Linked DNA regions of Homo sapiens: regions 1 and 3 are each linked to region 2. Evidence: promoter capture Hi-C in 16 types of primary human blood cells and fetal thymus (Javierre and others, 2016). All regions are on one chromosome and are shown on one strand. Each heading gives the region's core, a stretch centred on a gene start or on the middle of the fragment in contact. The rest is flanking DNA. Distances are from core to core; before and after follow the strand shown. Region 1 holds the start of MCEE (methylmalonyl-CoA epimerase). Region 2 holds the start of GFPT1 (glutamine--fructose-6-phosphate transaminase 1). Region 3 holds the start of PAIP2B (poly(A) binding protein interacting protein 2B).

Region 1 (4,625 bases), core at 189-2,688, 1.7 Mb before region 2:
TGTAATTTTCCATTACCTACCCAACTCCTATAAAGCAACCCCTTCCCCATCACCATTAGTTGACTCTCTTTTCGGACTCAGCCCACTTGCACCCAAGTGAATAAACAGCCTTGTGGCTCACACAAAGCCTGTTTTAGTGGTCTCTTCACACAGACGCGCTTGACAGGTGTAGCATGGGAAAAGGACTTCAGGGGATGGCAGAGTATAGGTGGGTAGAAACAACAATTCTATTAAACAGACACAACAGCTCTATTTTGGACGCAGTGAATTTGAGATGCTTGACAGTACCAAAATTTTAAAAATCGTTAAAAGTTGTACAGTGTGGATATCCCAGTTGTGTGCTACGGAATTCAAACTAAGCTCAGTCTGTAGTTGCTGTGAGCTGGGAACTCAGGGAAAGGTTGGGGTTTGAAACATAAATGAGTAATAATTTCATAGATCACATTTTAAATTCTTCAACAAAATACATATAAAACGCTTGTGTTGGGAAGAGACATGGAAGTTCTATTTCTGAAGAAGCTTAGTCATGGGGGGTGGACAGACAAGTGACAAGTTCGTACTTTCAATAAAGTATGCTAAGCGCTAAGTGCTTTGAGAGCACATAGGAGGAAGGAGAAACCAACAGTCTGTGTGTAGAGGGATGGGGGCGTAAGAAGCCCAAGGGAAGCTTCTAGGTGTTAACAATTGAGGTTAGAGTGATTTCAGTAACACTCAACTGAGAGATCCATCTATACAAATTTTAACAGTTTTTAAAATTTTGATAGCCTAGGAAAGCATAAACTCTGAAATTTGGGGAAAAGCGATTTTACGTTTCCCCTTACCTTCCCCCAGCTCCACAATTTGCCGGAGGCCTGCAACCCGCGTCCACGTGAGACCCCGGTCGCACCCCGAGCCCGGGATCTGCGCACTTACGTGAGGAAGCACTCGGGCCGACCCGTGGCTTTGCCGACTTCCGTCAGACACCGCTCCAGGGTCCGTCGACGCCAGACCTGCGGCGCCATGGCTGTCAGCAACTCCCGACACAATGCAGCATGCAAGGGAAGGGAGCCGCCCGGAAACCGCGCGGCAAAGATGCGCCCAGCGCAACTTGGATTTCAGAGCCGAAAGTTCCGCGGCGCACAGGTTCCGGACTCGCCCTCAGCCAGAGCCAATGGCAGCGCGAGCGCTTTCGCAGGAGGGTGGGAAACAAAAATCTCCATGGTCAGCCCAAACGCCTTTCAACTCTCTCCAAACTTCGTTTTGTATTTTTCAGGGGCCCACAAAGGGTGACCCGTCCTGGCCTTACGTTTCTGTTTTAGCTAAAGTAGGCCCGTTGTAGCAGGAAAGCAGCGACCTTCGCCACGCCCCTGACCTTTCTGTCCCCGCCCCCTCTGCCTCCCGCCCCGCCCTCTGCCGCGCGTCTCTCAACCTCCGTGGCTAGTCTTGACGTGGCGGGTTGCTTTCCAAAATGGCGCGGGTGCTGAAGGCTGCAGCCGCGAATGCCGTAGGTGAATACCGGGCACCGGCGACCTTCGCCATGGGACAGGGAGCGTGGGAACGGCGGTCGGGGGCGGAGGAGGCCTCGGCGTGGCCAAAGCACCTTGATCTAATGTCCTCCCCCGGGGGCGCGTTCCACAGCAGCTGCTGTCACTTAGGCAGAGGGTGCCTTCCAGAAGCGCCACCGCTTAGTAGCGGGGATTGCCTTGTGCATGAGTCCCATTTCCATCCGAGAGCTGTGCGCCTTGGGCTCTGCACCTTCCAGTATGTGGGCGGGAGAGTCGAGGGAACTTGCCCGGCAGGTCAGGCAGGGCAGGGACAGAAGTAAATAGAAGCGGATCGGTAAGTTATTTTACCGCGCACCAATAAAGAGACTGGGGAGAAACCAGAAAGGAGAGCACGTTCCGTAAAAACAACAACTACTAGTCGGCCGAACTCCAAGCGTGACCAGCTTTCTGTTGGGAACACTCAAAGGTCAGTGGTGTAAAGAATACAAAAGGAGTGGTTTTTCCACGTGCACTAATATATTTATCGCGTACACAGATAAAAGCATGTGGATTTGGAAACTTTCTTGAGTTCTCTCCCCCTTCATTTTTTTTAAAATATGTACATAGAATCAGTTATGACAGAAATAACTGTAATAATTGTCACGTTTTCTGACTCACTTTCTCCTCTTTTTATCCTTTTTTTTTTTCTCTTCCTCCTTTTATGAGAGGGCAAGTATTTCCCTTAATCTGAGATTCCCTATTAGGAAGAAGGTGCCAAGTGGTAATGCCCCAGAGTTACTCCGGGACATTCGTGATAAATCCTTCTAGCACCAGAGCCCACATTCTTAACCGTAAGGCATACCTTCCTCTTAGGTGATACACAAGATAGGAACGTAAAACTATAAATAAATGAATATTTGGGAAAAGGCATTTTTATGTCTATTTTTAGAACTGCACACTTTAATGATTGACAGTTTGGGAAAAAGTATGACTTCCAACAGGTCATATACATACTGCAAGAACTCAATACAGATAAAGGTGCATGTTTGTTTTGTACTTACATACACATCTTGGCATAAAGGAAAAATGAAGACAGTGTATTCCAAAGATTGCCTTTGATTTGTCCTATTAAGATACTTGAAGCTTAATGTCTCCACTTGTGTGTGTGTGTGTGTGGTTGAATATACATAAAGTAAAATTTACCTTTTTTTTTTTTTTTGAGACAGAGTCTCACTCTGTCGCCCAGGCTGGAGTGCAGTGGCGTTAGCTCACTGCAACCTCTGCCTCCCAGGTTCAAGCCATTCTTCCGCCTCAGCCTCCCGAGTAGCTGGGATTACAGGCACCCGGCACCACGCCCGGCTAATTTTTTGCATTTTTAGTGGAGACGAGATTTCACCATGTTGGCCAGGCTGGTTTGGAACTCCTGGCCTCAGGTGATCTGCCCACCTCGTCTTCCCAAAGTGCTGGGATTACAGGCGTGAGCCCGTCTCTACTAAAAATACAAAAATTAGCCGGGCGTGGTAGCACACGCCTGTTATCCCGGGTACTCGGGAGGCTGAGGCAGGATAATCGCTTGAACCCGGGAGGCGGAGGTTGGCGTGAGCCAAGATCGCGCCACTGCACTCCAGCCTGGGCAACCAAAGCGAAACTCCGTCTCAGAAAAAAAAAAAAAATTGCTTTTTAAGACTGAATAATATTCCATTGTGTGTGTATACCACATTTTGTTTATCCATTCGTCTCTTGATAGACATTTGGGTTATCCCCACCTTTTGGCTATTGTAATACAGCTATGAACGTGGGTGTACAAATACTTCTGAATTCCCGCTTCTTTGGGGGTGTGTATACTCATAAGTGGAATTGCTGGATTACATGGTAATTCTATGTTATGGCCCCTCTTTTAAGGAACATAAAACTTCGCCGAAAAACAAAAGCACAGAAAAATCAGAGTGAACACGTAGAAAAGTTCTGAAAATGGAAATTGAACCTGTTAGGTGGGAGACAAGAATGACCAACTTACATGACTGCATAGGTTTACTTTCATTAATCGTCTGTAAATGGGCTAACAGAAATGTAATCTGTTTACTTACTGTAATGAATAAAAAAAATTGATCATAGTTTGAAACAAGTTGAAGATATATATATGGTGCTGTGAAATTAACTGGTCAAATGTTTAAGAGAAAACTTACCAGACTAACTTGAAAGCACTTCTAATGAATGACTTTCTAAATACGTATGTTTCCTCAAACCAGATATTCAGTGAAAATTCAGACTTATGTTCGGCCAGGCGCGGTGACTCACGCCTGTAATCCCAGCACTTTGGGAGGCTGAGGAAGGTGGATCACCTGAGGTCAGGAGTTCAAGACCAGCCTGGCCAACATGGCAAAACCCATCTCTACTAAAAATACAAAAATTAACCGGGCGTGGTGGCGCGCTCCTGTAATCCCGGCTACTCCGGAGGCTGAGGCAGGAGAATTGCTTGAACCTGGGAAGCAGAGGTTGCACTGAGCCAAGATTGCGCCATTGCACTCCAGCCTGGGCTACAGAGCCAGACTCGTTTCAAAAAAACAAACAAACTTATTACGTGTTCTAAAATTAGATTATGTGAAGGTCGCACAACTTTGCAAAGATGCAAAGAAATGAATTGTACACTTCAAATGGGTGAACTTTATGGTATATAAATTTTAAGTCTGTTTAAAAACTATTAAGAGATAAAGCTGTTAAAAAACCTATTACAAGTGATTATTCACTTTTATAGTACTTTTTATACAAATTTAACATCTAATGTCTTTAAATAGTAAGTACTCTTAATGCATTTGAGTATAGATCCTTGCAGCTAAACCTTTATGTATTCAGGGACAGTGTCTAAAAAGTGTGATCTGAAATAAATGCAAAATCTGAACTGAAAGAAATGCAATGTTGTTTTTAAGTCAGGACACTAAAAGTGATTAACGAGAATTGATATTGAAAGGAAGATTGGAATGAGAGTTAACATACACATCCGATTTTGATCTTTTACTTGTATACCAGCTTCCTGACATGTGAAAATAGTTTCTTTAATCTGTATTCATCTTTACATGCGTTTTTTATTAACACTTCTGTTTTTAAATATCTTATGCATTTATTTGCACATGGTTTTACACTGTAGTATATTCATGCAAAGCA
Region 2 (4,070 bases), core at 1,059-3,558:
CTCCTTCAGGCCTTATTCCCAAAGGTCCAGTTAAGGCGGAGCTCTGTATAAAGGGAGGTCAGGCACCCAAAGTGTGTATCTTAACTGGCGCATGGTTACAAAGAGTTCTTTGTTGTGTTGGGTTAGTGAGGTTCTTCAAGGCTGATTTGGGAAAATACTGTCCTTCAAAGTTTCTTCTCTTTTTTGTCAAATTATTTTTTTATTTACTTTTTTTTTAACTTTTTTTTTTTTTTCTGAGTTGGGGACTTTCCAGTCTTTACTGAAAACTTTTAAAAATTTGTATTTAGACAAATTCTAAAAGACCTGTAACACTAGTTTCTTCTTCTCAACTGATTCATAAATATCTTCCAAAATAGTTTGTTGAGTGGAGATGGATAAGACAAATTGATAGTCATTGTGGTGGAGTAGCAGGCAGAAGAAGAAAGCAAAGGGTTAAATAGATTACTATAGTTGGAGCATGAGAACTCTGGTAGTACTGCTGACATTTTCTTTGTGGCATTGACAGGTTTGCTGCCAGTGCACAAAGATGTTGCTTAAGCATTGGAACCATACCTTGGCTTTTAGGTAATACAACGGAGTTCTAACCAGAGCCTTAGATGAGGGTTCTGAGGCTAGATGTATATCCACAGTCTTTTGTTTCTTGAATTAAGAAATGTATTATTACCAAAAAGCTCACTGTTTTTTTTTTTTTTAAACTTTGCTCTGGGTGATCCAGGGACCTGTTTAAGGGATTGAAATATCAAAAGGGCTTTTAGGTGAGAAATACTCTGCTTAGTTAAATGTGACATTTTTCAGCTTCTCTGAGGCAAGTGAAAAAAGGCACTTTTCCCCGTAAGAAGAACTGAAAGCCTTATGCTCACTTAATCATATAACCAGCCATAGAAGGTTAATTCCGCTAAGAAAATAGGACTTTTTTTCACTCATTCCAAAATAAATTTGATCTTTTACTTTGTGCTGTGGTCTAAAAGTGTTGGGTATGTAAAATCTAGTTCTAGCTTCAAGAAACTTACAGCCCAGTGGGAAAATACAGAAAATCATAAAATATCAAAGAATATTTCTTTACAGTGAGTAGCTCAAAGAGTAAGAGGTTAATGCATGTCTCCAAGTCTGTCTAGGGGGGATAAAAAAGGCTTTCCTGAAGAGGTAGCATCTAAACAGAGACGTGGTGGGGATTCTATGCAGAGTAACCAAAGTGTGCAAAAGATTTGAGAATCTTGGCCCAGTTGAGGAACTACCTGTTGAGCCTGTTGGGAGTGTATAGGGCTGGAAGGACGGCTAAGACCAGACACATGAACAGCAGTCAGCAGGCTAAGACCAGACACATGAACAGCAGTCAGCACTCCAGGAATTCTGTGTGCCATGTACGTTTTTGATACTACTCTACTCTAGAGCCATTATAGAGTTCTGATTACTCCACATTTGACTAAAGATACCATTTAAGGCTGTTTAAAGCAAATGCCCAGGTAATAAATTCTCAGAAACATCATCCCTCTCTAATCAAGTCTCTCTTGTCAGACATGGCGCATTAATTCATAGAATGAATCGTTCGTAAGTCAAACGCGCGGCTGTTAAAGCTAGGGAATTCCTAGCCGTCTCAGGTGGGTCATGGGAGGAGGTGGGCCAGCAGTTTCTTACGTCCAGGCTCATAGTCGGATAGTTGAGCCTTACATTCCTCCTCTACCCCTCCACAATAAACTGAGGGTTATGGAGGCAACGGATGCGGAGGGCTTTTAGGGGCCAAGCATATTACACAAGGAATTGAATTGCTTATTACCAGAGAGGCTGACCTTTGGGGCTTTACAGTCAAGAATTTTGTTATCTCTCTCCTCCCACCTCAACCTAATTCTTTGCAATTTTTTTCAGCCTTATGTTCCCCAGGATTCCCTTTTCATACTTCCTGCTTTTTTCCTCCTCTTTCCTCGCTTCGTGCAGTGCTGGCGCCTGGGGCCTGGGGCTGCACGGGGCACGCACCCGGGCTATTGCTTTGCTAACAATTCCATCCTTCTCTTTCCGTCATTCCCTGCCAGGTGCTGAGTTTCTCCCTCCCTCTCGGCTCGGTCCCTCCCGCGGCTCGCCCCGGGGCGGGCGTCTCCAGGAACTCCAGGCGGACGCGGCCACGAGCCACTGCCACGTCGCCGCCGCCAGCAGTCCAGCGCCTGCGTGGGCTCGGGGGGCGGGGCAGCGCTGGGAGGCGGGACTTGCGCGTGAGCGGCGCGTGAGCGGTTCAATGGAGCCTACGGGCGGCGGCGCGCTGCGCGCCGAGGGGCGGGGCCCGGCGGCGGTTGCTGGCGGAGCCCGGGAGGCGGAGAAGGCTGTCGTTGCCTTGGCCGTCGCATCCCCGAGGGAGTCGTGTCGGCGCCACCCCGGCCCCCGAGCCCGCAGATTGCCCACCGAAGCTCGTGTGTGCACCCCCGATCCCGCCAGCCACTCGCCCCTGGCCTCGCGGGCCGTGTCTCCGGCATCATGTGTGGTAAGGGGGCCGGGAGCGGGGGGCGTGTTGCCGGGTGGCGCTGGGGTGCGGTGCGGGTGCCGCTAAGGCCCAAGGCGACGGGCGGAAGCGGGAGTGTGGAGGGTGCGAAGTCTGGGTGATGGGCAAGGGGCGCCCAGTGGTGGCTGCGGGGGCGGGGGCCGGCATCCACGGGCGGGAGAGGGGGTGGCGGCCGGGAGAAAGGCACCTGAGAGGAAGGCGGGCCCCCTTTGCCGGGGGCTAGCGGGCGCCTTGGCGCGGAGAAGGAACCGAAAGGGGAGAGAAACGCCTTTATTGAAAAAGGAGGAGAGAGCTGAGGGAATTGAGGTGTGGAGGGGGTTGCCTTCAAAAGGGCCCACCAGGTGAGTGAGGAAACCTGTGGAACCTCGGGCGAGGTCTCTTGAACTTACCTTGCATTTTTCTAAAAATCTTTAAAAAAATATTTTACTTGTTTCTGGGGAGGCCCAATAGAAAACAGACCCTAGCTAGAGCCACGGTAGTGCCATTAAACGTGATACTTCCTGCCATCCCTTGTCTCAACAGAAACCATTGCTAATCAATAACTTGGTTCATGGGCTTAGACCTGATCCTCTGGTGGAAGAGGCCTTCAAATGTCTGTGGCGATAGGTTATACATAATTTATCATTTGCGTGTGCACCCATTAAAAATGCCAGCTCTGAAAAATATCAGTTATACCTTGGATGTATACCCCTTTAGAATACCAACTATGAAAAATATCATTTATCCCTTGCATGTGCATCCATTAAAAATACTAGCTATGGAAAGTTGAGCAAATATCTTTCCTAGAGCCTTAAAAAATTAAGGTTAGGCCCTTTTATTCCATGTTTTGAGAGTCGTTTATTATGACCTAAGTGTTAGTGAAAGAGACTTTGAGAATCGTGTCTGACATGACTGATATCTTCTAAAATTGGTGTTAATTTGGCTATTGCCAGTAAAAATAATTGTATTCTTACCTTTCTTATTGAAATTTACAACCGACTTTATCCCTGGAAGAAAGTACACTTTTTTTTTTTTTTTTTAAAGGGAAGTACCATTGTAAGAGAATTGAAAACTCTCTGGGAGACTTCTTATTTGCAGCCTTTTACACGAAGGAACTGAACAGGAGGTGGATTGTACTCGTTAGTGTATATATTTCCTGTATTTAACTTTATGCTCATTTCAGCTTCTGAAAATGAGGAGCAGGTTTAAATTTAGAGTAGATTAAAAAAAAACCCACATAAAAACAGAAACACCTATAAATAGCTTACTGAAATTATTAGAGTAGAGCTGACTTCAGAATCAGACTTTTGCAGTGTCTACTTAGTAGAATGGTTTTGCATTTAGTTTGGAGCTGTGAAGTAGTGAATTTGCAAACTGGTCAATCTCCAGTGTGCTTCATTTGGTAGTTAACTGTTCCTGAATGATGAGGGGTGTGCCTCATCAAGTACTCAACATTCTGGTTGCAGGTCATTTCATCATGTTCCAAGAAAAAAACGTAGTCAAAGTACTTACTGAAAAAAAAATAAATAAATAAATAAATCAGCGCTGGGCGTGGTGGCTCCCGCCTATAATCTCAGCACTTTGGGAGGCCGAGGCAGGTGGA
Region 3 (4,309 bases), core at 1,178-3,677, 1.8 Mb before region 2:
TTATCACTGGTAATAGCCAGCCATGAATTTATAATAGATGGCACCAGTGGTAGGAAGTGAGACGAGAGAAGTTCATCAACCCTTCCTTACATCCCATTGCTATCCTGGTAATAAAGGTTCATCCTCAAGGAGTATTTCTGACTGCTCAAGGACACCACGTGGACCAGAAGAGCCTGTTTTTCAAACCTATGAGATTGTGTAAACTTTCTCTCATCATACACCGGAAGGCCAATTCAGGGAAAGAAGCAGTGGAGGGTATGGGGATGCTATCCTAGAGAGAGATTTTTTTTTTTCTAAAAGACACATGTTTCTTGCAGGCGTCATTTAAATTATGTAATCAAATAAAGCTTTAAACCAGAGTTGGCAGCCCTAAATGGATGTACACCTAATACACAACTTCAAAATACATGGAGCAATGTGAATAGTGATCCTGGAGTTGTGCACTGTAGTGGCTCTGCTTATTAGCCCCTTCCCACTCTTCACTTCTTCACATTATTCACATCTCTGTTCAGTGCTGTTTCCTCAAACAGCTCTTAAACTAACCATCCTACTTAAAATAGCCATTTCCCCAACCATCCCATGACTCTGCTTTATTTTCCTTTGTAGCATTTATTCACAACATACCATTTTATTATTTATTGGTTACTTTTCTGTTGTCAGTCTCCTTCACTACAGTATAAACACCATGGGTGCATCTTCACTGTCTTATTCATATCATATACCCAGTTCCATGATCAGAGCCTAGAACATTCATAGTAGATGCTAAATAATACTTGTTGAATGAATTTATTTATTTACTTATATCATTTAATATGAAGTATGTATTAGTCCATTCTCACATTGCTATAAAGAACTACCTGAGACTGAGTAATTTATAAAGAAAAGAGGTTTAATTGACTCACCGTTCCTCAGGCTGTACAGGAGGCATGGCTGGTGAGGCCTCAGGAAACTTACAATCAGGGCAAAGGGGAAGCAAGCACGTTTTCACATGGTAGCAAGAGGGAGAGAGAGCTAAGGGGGAAGGACACACACTTTTTTTACCATCAGACCTTGTGAGAACTCACTCACTATCACGAGAACAGCAAGGGGGAAATCTGCCCCCATGATCCAATCGCCTCCCACCAAGTCCCTCCCCCAACATTGGGAATTATAATTCAAAATGAGATTTGGGTGGGGACACAGAGCCAAACCATATCAAAGTATACAGCTAATATTTATAATTGTTATTTGAGTTTATCTTTTTCATTTTTATATTTTTTCCATTCATTCTGCAATTCCCTAACTTTGTGTCATGTATACAGTCAGCTTGAGAGGTGGGGGGGAGAGAAAAATGTATAAAGTAAGAGCTCCACAAAGAAATCCCTACTTCCTGTGGAATACAATTCGAAGTCCTTTGCAAGCAGATTGGACATTCTAAATCCAAGGGAGGCAATAAAGTTTTATTTTAATTTGTATTTATTGATGTATTTTTTTTTGAGTCGCAACCTCACTCTATTGCCCAGATTGGAGTGCAGTGGTGCGATCTTGGCTCACTGCAACCTCTGCCTCCCGGGTTCAAGTGATTCTCCTGCCTCAGCCTCCCGAGTAGCTGGGACTACAGGAGCCCGCCACCACGCCCAGCTAATTTTTGCATTTTTAGTAGAGACGGGGTTTCACCATACTGGCGAGGCTGGTCTAGAACTCCTGACCTTGTGATCCGCCCGTCTCGGCCTCCCAGAGTGGTGGGATTACAGGCGTGAGCCACCGCGCCCGGCCAAGTTTTATTTTTTTAAAGCACTCAAGAAGTTAGGTTTGTTTCTAGAAACGTGGAAGCATCCGTCTGCTTCCTTCCAGCGTCCCTTTGCTTCCTTCCAGCCTCCCAAGGAGCCCAATTCCTTAATTTTCCCTACAGAGAATAGCACCAGGTCCAAAGCAGCCTGAATCAAAGCTCCTCCTTTGGTAATTGACAGCTGAGGGAAATCCTACTGAGGCCCACCCCCACCCTCCTCCTTGCTAGGCTGACAGGCAAAACTCGGTGGCAGTGGCTTCCAGCTCAGCCAATAGACGAAGCGGGAGCAAGAGCCTGTGTAAACAAACCCAGAGTGCGGCGCCTTGGTCTCCTCCCCCACGAGTGGGCCGGGCGCATCCTTGGCCCAATGCCTATCCCAGGCTAGCGTAGCGTCCTTTCAGCCAATCAGAGCCGGCATCTCCCTCAAGGAGGTGTTCCACCACAGGAAAAAAAAAATGAAGGAAGAGAAAAGACAGACATTAAAACCAATCAGAAGCTGAAACTTCTGAGGGAGTGGGCGGGCACTGCTTCACATTTAGACCAATAAAAACCACATATGCCATTCTAGGTGACCGAACGGCATCTTCTTTGGCCCAATAGACGAATGGGGCGGTGCCCGGCAACCAATGGCTTGGGTTCGGGGGCGGGGCGAGGAGGCAGTGTGCAGTAAGAGATAACCTGGCAAGTGGTAGTGGCGCTTCTCGGGTGCTGTGCTTCACGTTTTGGTACTAAAGGCCGAGACTGTTGTGGCGACGGCGACCTCTACGGCAACGGCTTAAGCTCTCGGAGGAGTGGCAGAGTACGATCTGAAGGAGGGGCTTCTGGTTAGCCCAGGTGGGCTCGGGTGCCCGGGCTGCTGGGGAAAGGACTCGAGGGAAACGCCGTTCTCCCGGCTCTGGGGGCGCCCTGCGCCTCCCTTTCTGCCGCCGTCGGGGCTGTGAAGGGCGGCACGCGCCTGCCCGAGCTCCTGTAGGGAGGGAAAGCGCGCGGGGTCCCACGTCGCGGCCATCGGCGAAAAGGGGCGTCCGCTGGGGTCAGCCCCTGCCCCTCGGGAGCAATAGGGGGTTTTCGTCCCTTTCCCCCCCGCACAGGTGCTCTGTTTCCCCCCGACTCCCACCCAAGTTCCTGACTCCCCTCAGCGTCCTCCTAACACTCGAACCGAATTCTTGGCCTGAGTCCCATTTCTACCCAGGTGCAACAATGCTAGGCAAATTGACCCGCGCGGCATCCCCCGCCCCTCTCCCCGGGCTGGAGCGGGAGGGATTGCGCGTCGTGCCCTTCCCCTATTCGCGGCCCCTGCGCGTCCTCTGCCTTTTTATACTTGCTCCATCTCCCCCTTGACTCCAGCCCTCATTCTTCATGCCTCATTTGCCTGGGAGACGTTCGCCACTTCTCTTGTGCCTTGCGGTCCGTGAGTGAGCCCATCACCCCCTACCAACCCCTAAATTCCATTCTCATCTCTCCAGAAAACTAACATTTTCCACTTGCCTCTTCCAGGCAGCTGGAAGGTGAACTGAGAGAGGCAGAATACGCAGAACAGGGAGTTTGGCAAGGTTGGGAACTTTAATGTTTTGTTCCTGGTAGACTGTTTTTGCCTTCAAATGGCATTTGACCATTATACCCGCTCTAGAATCTTTGTCCTAATGCAGTTCTTTTGGTGGTAATTGCTGAAAATGCAGTTGAAAAGGGCTAACTAGAAGCAAGGGATTTAAATTTTGTTACTATTATTTTCAGTAAATTGAATTGGATTATACTTTAAACAGCTTAACTGGGGTTTCTGGGAGTTTGTAGTGTAAGGGCCTGGCTACCCTACTTTGTCATAAAATATAGAACATACTTAGTTGTACAGCACAGTGTGATTCGATCACACCCAACCTATGAAGGGATAATAACAGCATTGAATCTGTCCAAAAACAACATTCCCTGTTCCCTTTTCACCTTCATAGTATATTCGTTTGGTTTCTAGTAATGTCGGTTCTAGCCATATGTTTTTTGATAACAGTACAAACTATGCTGTGCCTAAGTAAAATTATGCCAACAATTTTATGGGGAAAAGCTAATGCACTGCTCTTAGCTTTGATTAAGATTTTAGACGTTTGAAAATATAAATTCAGATATTGGACAGTGAGGGTTTTATTTTGAAGGTTGGAGGAGATTGAAGTGTTGGGGTAAGACTGATAGGCTCCTCTGGCTACTTGTATATCGGGGTGGGGAGAATATACAGGTTTACAAAATCTTGTAAATTCTCACAGTGCTTAGTTTCCTGACTTTTCAAAAATTGGAATTGTTTTTCCTAGCTTTCAGTGGAGAAATGTAAGCTATGAGTTTAACATCATGTTCACTGTGTTTTGGCCAGGATTTTGCAAGCTTTTGTGGAAAAAATTATATTGCTTTCTTTATCCTGTTTGTAATGTATGTATCAGTATGCTTCCTTGTATTTTACTGTGGTAAAATTGTATCTTGTATATAAAGAAAAAAGTCTATTATAGTGAATTAAAAGAAATCTTTACTCTGAGGTGGCAGCCTTGTCTAATGGACCAT

What was found. Contacts are between HindIII fragments. The CHiCAGO score rates a contact against its expected background, and 5 or more counts as called.
Region 1: a contact is called between the fragment with the promoter of MCEE here and the fragment with the promoter of GFPT1 in region 2, in 2 of 17 cell types (non-activated CD4 T cells and naive CD8 T cells). The highest score is 9.5, in non-activated CD4 T cells.
Region 3: the fragment with the promoter of PAIP2B here is called in contact with the fragment with the promoter of GFPT1 in region 2 in 1 of 17 cell types (naive CD4 T cells); the score reaches 5.2 in naive CD4 T cells.

Annotation. Positions count from the first base shown.
Region 1 is chr2:71,127,042-71,131,666 of GRCh38, reverse strand. MCEE (methylmalonyl-CoA epimerase) reads left to right here and starts at 1,438. Exons shown (of 3, transcript NM_032601.4): 1 at 1,438-1,487. The coding sequence starts at 1,448. MPHOSPH10 (M-phase phosphoprotein 10) reads right to left here and starts at 1,033. Exons shown (of 11, transcript NM_005791.3): 1 at 913-1,033. The coding sequence starts at 1,001. RefSeq lists enhancers at 836-885, 986-1,035, 1,357-2,215. The HindIII fragment of the contact is 1,939 bases long and covers 670-2,608 here.
Region 2 is chr2:69,385,465-69,389,534 of GRCh38, reverse strand. It overlaps GFPT1 (glutamine--fructose-6-phosphate transaminase 1), which reads left to right and starts at 2,308. Exons shown (of 20, transcript NM_001244710.2): 1 at 2,308-2,470. The coding sequence starts at 2,464. RefSeq lists silencers at 1,889-1,998, 2,059-2,728 and an enhancer at 1,957-2,516. The HindIII fragment of the contact is 6,543 bases long and covers 1-4,070 here.
Region 3 is chr2:71,225,221-71,229,529 of GRCh38, reverse strand. It overlaps PAIP2B (poly(A) binding protein interacting protein 2B), which reads left to right and starts at 2,427. Exons shown (of 4, transcript NM_020459.1): 1 at 2,427-2,602. RefSeq lists enhancers at 2,142-2,281, 2,497-2,997. The HindIII fragment of the contact is 3,788 bases long and covers 350-4,137 here.